Linked DNA regions of Homo sapiens: region 1 is linked to region 2. The links are contacts of gene promoters, found by promoter capture Hi-C in blood cells and fetal thymus (Javierre and others, 2016). All regions are on one chromosome and are shown on one strand. The core of a region is centred on a gene start or on the middle of the fragment in contact, and the rest is flanking DNA. Distances in the headings are between cores, read along the strand shown.

Region 1 (2,700 bases), core at 127-2,626, about 28 Mb before region 2:
AAATCTCAGTAGACAGGCAGTGATACAAGCCTGGGTTTCTGAAAAAAGTTTAGGCTTGGAGATGTAGATCTGTGGGTCTGTTATTAATAGTTGTCCTGCTTCGGGTTTTTATTTTTTTTTAATTTTCTTCCTTTTTTAGTGCTTTATATTTTACAAATGTCTGCAGCAGTTTTTTGTCATCTTTATGGAAAACAAGGCACGTCTTAAAGTCGTTCAAGTCCTTCACTTTTTCACACTGAGGTCTGTCTTCATATCCACTTATCTTTCAAGTCTATGAAACCCCTTATAAAAACTTTCCTTTGAAATATTTTAAAATTCAAGGCCCACGGCTGATTAATACTGTTTCTCCTCCATAACCCCTAGGATCCTCCAGTTCTGGGTTTTAACAAGAAAAATATCCTCAATCCTCTCTAGTTTCTAGGTGTAAAGCAGCTTGGACCCTCCTGGGTTTGGTGGGTCCATCTCTCTTGGAGTCCAACTCTGTATTCCTAAAAAGCAATTATTGAAATAGAAGCTAGTCAGTTAATGGCAATAAAAGAAGGGAATTCCAAGTGGGAGCTTCCCAAGCCAAGAGGAAGAGAGGTTTCTTGCCTTATCACTGTAAGTGGCAGAGTGGAGTTCCAATTCAATGATATCATTTGTGTTATCAAAGGTAGTTTAATCGTTGAAAAGCTTGTTAACAATTATAAACACAGGCAAATGCCTTTTCCTTTTTGGCCTTACGGAGAATGAGAAAAGTTCTTCCCATGGCTAAAATTCTTAGCTGTTGGTAATGCAGAAAAGAGTACCAGAACAGCAGAATTCCAACGGTATTCCAGGATTCTGTGTCTTGGTTAATTTTAAATTCACGTGACCTGGCAAACTTAGGAGAGTCCTGGTTGTAAGAGGTATTAACATTTTCAGCAGTAGTACTCTAGCTACACTTGACTGTTCCCCTCTCTGTGAATTTACATGATATGTTTGAAATACTGCCCCTCAAAAGTCTCAGAACTTTGAGAAATACGGTCCTTTCCAAAAAAACCCCTTATGTCCAATTTGAAGGGGTCGCTGTCAGTGGGTGCTTAAGTGGGTAAAGAAAAGCCAAGAATATGTCAGGGTGAGGAAGGCCAAGGCTGAGCGAGGTCAGCTTGGGACCCACCTCCTAGAATGACCTCCGCCAGCAGGAAAAAACCGTTAAGGGGAGGAAAGGGCAGGTCCCTGCGGCCTCCAGGTGCCAGCCGCGTGAGTGGGCGGAGAGGCCTCGGTGCCTCCTACCCGCTCCGGACGTGCGTCCCGGCATCACCCCGGGATCCGCTCCTCCCCGCTGGCGGGGGGAGAAAGGGCAGGAGGCCTTCCGTCCCGGCTATAAAGGGCCCCGGACCGCCGCGGCTCGCCTCGGCTTGCCTCGACACGCCTAGGCGCCCTCCGGCTCCGCCCTAGCCGCCGCGTCCCAGCTAGAGCTCCAGCGCCCGCTCAGGCCCCACTCGACCTCTCGGGCCTCGGCTACTTGGACTGCGGCGGAATATGGCGGCTCCGATGACTCCCGCGGCTCGGCCCGAGGACTACGAGGCGGCGCTCAATGCCGCCCTGGCTGACGTGCCCGAACTGGCCAGACTCCTGGAGATCGACCCGTACTTGAAGCCCTACGCCGTGGACTTCCAGCGCAGGTACCGCCGGAATCCCACCACCCCCACTTAGACAGGCAGCCCGCCTCCCAGGAGCCGTCTCGGGACACGGGCCGCCCCTCGGCCCTCGCGCGCCAACCCCGCCCCAGGCGGGGAGGAACCTGAGTGGGCGGGGCTCGGGGTGACTCGGGTAACCGGGTTCTGTGGCTTCCGTAGTGGCAGGTTTGACAGCGCTGGTGCCCGGAGCGGGCGCTGAAGAAACTTCTTTCCTCATCCCCTTTCCCCTCTGTTCTAATCAGCGGTCTTGCGCCATAGGGTACGTGCTGTGGCTCCAACACTTATTCCCCAGAGTGCTGCTGGGGAGTGACTCACCGCCGCTGCAGGTTTTCTGACTTTGGCACCCACTAGCGTGGGCCTGTGGAGTAACGTGGGCATAACTCCTGGCACGTGTAATTACGCATTTAAAACTTTCTAGTTTATTTCATAGCAAATGTTGTGATTTTATATCTAAGAGGATTCCTTCAGGCAGACACTATATCCTTTTGTTTTTTCCTTGCTAATATTCCTCATTTAGGGGAAGATTACACCTACATTGATCAATTTTTTCTCCCCTTGGATCAACATTGAGAAGTTAAATGTACATCAACATTTGTCCGTGTGTGACTTTAACCATCTTGAAGAGGGAGAAAGGTCAGGAAAGCAACTTTTACAGGCCAATGTCGTTTTAGCTTGTCTTCTACCATTGTGTACCATACAACTTTAGTTACTGGGCTAATAATTCTATTCATAAGTTCCACTAAAAAGGTACAGGTCTTTTTCTGTTGTCGTTGTTGTTTGAAGTAAAAGAGCTATTATACAAGTTGTAATAGTTATACTTGTGAGGTTACCCCATTTTGATTTAATAGTTTCTCCCCTTTTAGGAGAGACACTGCAGAATGGAAACTATCCTGGCAACAGAATATACATGGCCAATTTTTCGAGTGATGGAAAACATCCAACTAGTTAACTGGCATGAAGGAGCGTTGAGAGTAATGAAAATGGGTTGATTTGGAGTTTGAAAAAAGCCCAGCAAATTGTTTGTGTCCTAGCATTTTCA
Region 2 (2,700 bases), core at 46-2,545:
AGGAAGTCACTAAATTTTAGTGTCCAAAAGGTTTTAGGCAAGGGAACGAGATGATCTCCGTTTTAAGATCGATCTTGCTACAGTTTGTAAAACTGCCTAAGGATGGTAAAAGACTGAACCTGAGATTTCATTTAGAAGGAAACTAGCGTAGAGCAGGTGAGAGATGATGGTGGCATGGTCTAGATTAAGAAAGGCCCTTGGGAAAATTAACGGCCCTGCCCTAATATTTTTGCAGAAATGATCCTTTATGATTGTGCTGCACAAATCCCAAATGAGGTGAAGGATGTTGTCTTGTCCTATTATGAACTTTTCTGGGGAAAATGCTCTCTCCAAAATCAACATAAAATTAGATCTTTGTCAGTTCTAAGTATTAGAACATAAAATCTTAACCAAAGTTGTTAAACTCAAAATAGATTTTCAGCATGTAATTTTCATTTTCTGGAAGGTGATTAGGAATCTTTCCAAAGAGATGACACATGGCTTGAGAACTGGGGGCGGGAAGTCAAAGGAAGCAGCCATTAGGTCTCCACGCTGAAAGAATAGCTAAGTGCAGAGGCCTTGAGAAGGGAATGAAATGGCCACGTTCAAGGAACAGAGGCAGCCCACTGGCTGTAGCAGAGTAAATATCCATGGTATGTGGTCCACATTTACTGAATGTCCAAGACATGTCTTCTAATTCGTCTGTCACCAAAGTGGTCATAAGCAGTCGCCATCAATAAGAAACAAGCAGAGAAAGGGCCTACAGTTCAATTTATTTTTCAGTTGCCTCACAAAAGGCTAAGAAAAACTTAGTTTCTGGTGAACCCAGGTAGACATGCTCATTTTAAAGAGAATGAATATATCTAGGAAGAGCCTGGCAGTATATTCCCAAAGGCGTGACAATAAAGTTCCTTAACGTGTAGTCAGCACCCTCAAACGTCAACACGTCTGGAAAATTCGGAAGCGTTTCCTCCTGTCAGCGGCCCTTCAAGCTACCTCATACAGGGCAGCCTCTCCTACCCAGACCCGGAGCCTATCAATCGACGAGAAAACAGCTTCCCCTCACTGGGCGGTGCGAACCAACTCTGCACGATCAAGTCGGATAGAGGACTGGCAACCGCGGGCACTACAGGGCAGTCCTTAACGTCATATCCGGTTGTCAGCTCGGCCGCCTCCGCCTAACCAGAAGTCGCAGATGTGACGATGCAAAAACGCCCGTCGGGGGCGCGTCTCTTTCAGCAGCCAATGGGCTCTGCCCACCTTCGTCCTCGTCAGCATTTTGTCTAATCGCGGCCTGTGACGCTCGAAGGGCGGGGAGCAGAGGGAGATACAGAAACCGACAGGGGCCAGGCGCCCGGTGGCTCCGAAGCGGGGAAGTGGGACAAGATGGTTTACATCTCGAACGGTAAGTTGAGAGCGGGCTGTGGCTTCGACCGGTGACTTGTAAGATCGGACTCCAGGTTCCTTTCATCGTCGCTCGCTGAGTCTTGAGCCCGGTGCGGCTTCCCCGGGCTTAGCGCCCCGCGGCCGGGCGGAGCTGGACCGAAGTCGCCTCGGCTTGCGGCGCGTCAGCCGATGGTCTCTGAGCCGGCAGTCGGGGGCCGAGGTCCCGCCGGCCTCACGTTGAGTACTGGGAGCCCTGCAACCCCGCCTTCGTGCAGCAAGCGCTTGATTGTGGATTTGCGAGGGTGGTCTTTCCTCTCTCGGGTGTCGGTATCCTTAAAACTAGTAAGGACAATGATGCCGACGCTGTACACGTAGCGCTTGTGCCCTGGACAGTGTTTCAGTTATTTGCTTATCGTCACATTCAATCCTGTTTTACGGGTGGAAACTCTGAGGCTCAGATAGATTAAATAGCTTGCCTGGGCTATTTAAGTCACAGAGGTAACTTAATGGCTGAGTCGGGATTCGATCACAGGTAGGCTGACGTCAGCGTCCTTGTTATCTGTTATGCTGCCTCTGTCTACAACGTGTAAAAAGACCGAGCCGACCTAGGATGATAATTAGATGAAAGCTTTGCATAGGCTTTTTCCCCAGGAAAGGGTAGCTAGTCAAACATGGAATTTTTTGCTCGAATTTCAAGGGGCATGGGAAGAAGTACTATCTTCCCCTAGGAGCAAGTTAATTATTACCGGAATGGAGAATCCGAGAGACTTAATTCTGCGAACCCACAAAGAAGATGACCGGAAAGGAAGGACATGACTGTGTCAGATCAGTGCTAGAGCTGCCTGCCCACCTGTTTGACTCAGGTGAAATTCTTTGGTACAGTCTTAACAAGGAGTTGTGGATCATTGGAACTAGGTCTTGGTTCTATTTGAGTCATCTGTTTTTCTCCAGAGACGAGTAAGGTAGTCAGTGAGGAGCCTTCTGGCTGACTGCACTTTTGCATTTCTTGACTTTTAAAAATCTCCCCTTCTCATCTCCCACTTAAAAATCTTTGAAACAAGTAGATTGATGGACACTACAGAAAAGCATCAAAATTTCATCTTAGTTTTGGGCGCTTTCAGACTTTAGTCTGTTTTATAGCCTGTTTTATAGCCTTTGTGATATAAGCTTAAGGCTGGAAGCTTCTGTATGAATTATTGAATAATTCCTTGTATTTGTTGTGTCTTACTGTGTTCGCATTATTTCATTTGGTCCACATAAGTAGCCGATTAGGACTCTTTATCGTACTTTAAAAGTTGAGAAACACAACTGCATTCAAACACCTTACTTCTCTCT

The links. The method cuts DNA at HindIII sites, captures the fragments that hold promoters and counts their contacts. A CHiCAGO score of 5 or more calls a contact.
Region 1: the fragment with the promoter of GBE1 here is called in contact with the fragment with the promoter of SELENOK in region 2 in 1 of 17 cell types (total CD4 T cells); the score reaches 6.6 in total CD4 T cells.

Annotation. Positions count from the first base shown.
Region 1 is chr3:81,760,321-81,763,020 of GRCh38, reverse strand. GBE1 (1,4-alpha-glucan branching enzyme 1) reads left to right here and starts at 1,376. Exons shown (of 16, transcript NM_000158.4): 1 at 1,376-1,646. The coding sequence starts at 1,504. RefSeq lists silencers at 1,148-1,247, 1,748-1,827 and enhancers at 903-1,511, 1,298-1,587, 1,928-2,097. The HindIII fragment of the contact is 5,689 bases long and covers 675-2,700 here.
Region 2 is chr3:53,890,454-53,893,153 of GRCh38, reverse strand. SELENOK (selenoprotein K) reads left to right here and starts at 1,295. Exons shown (of 5, transcript NM_021237.5): 1 at 1,295-1,384. The coding sequence starts at 1,366. RefSeq lists enhancers at 1,017-1,316, 1,207-2,107. The HindIII fragment of the contact is 7,183 bases long and covers 1-1,995 here.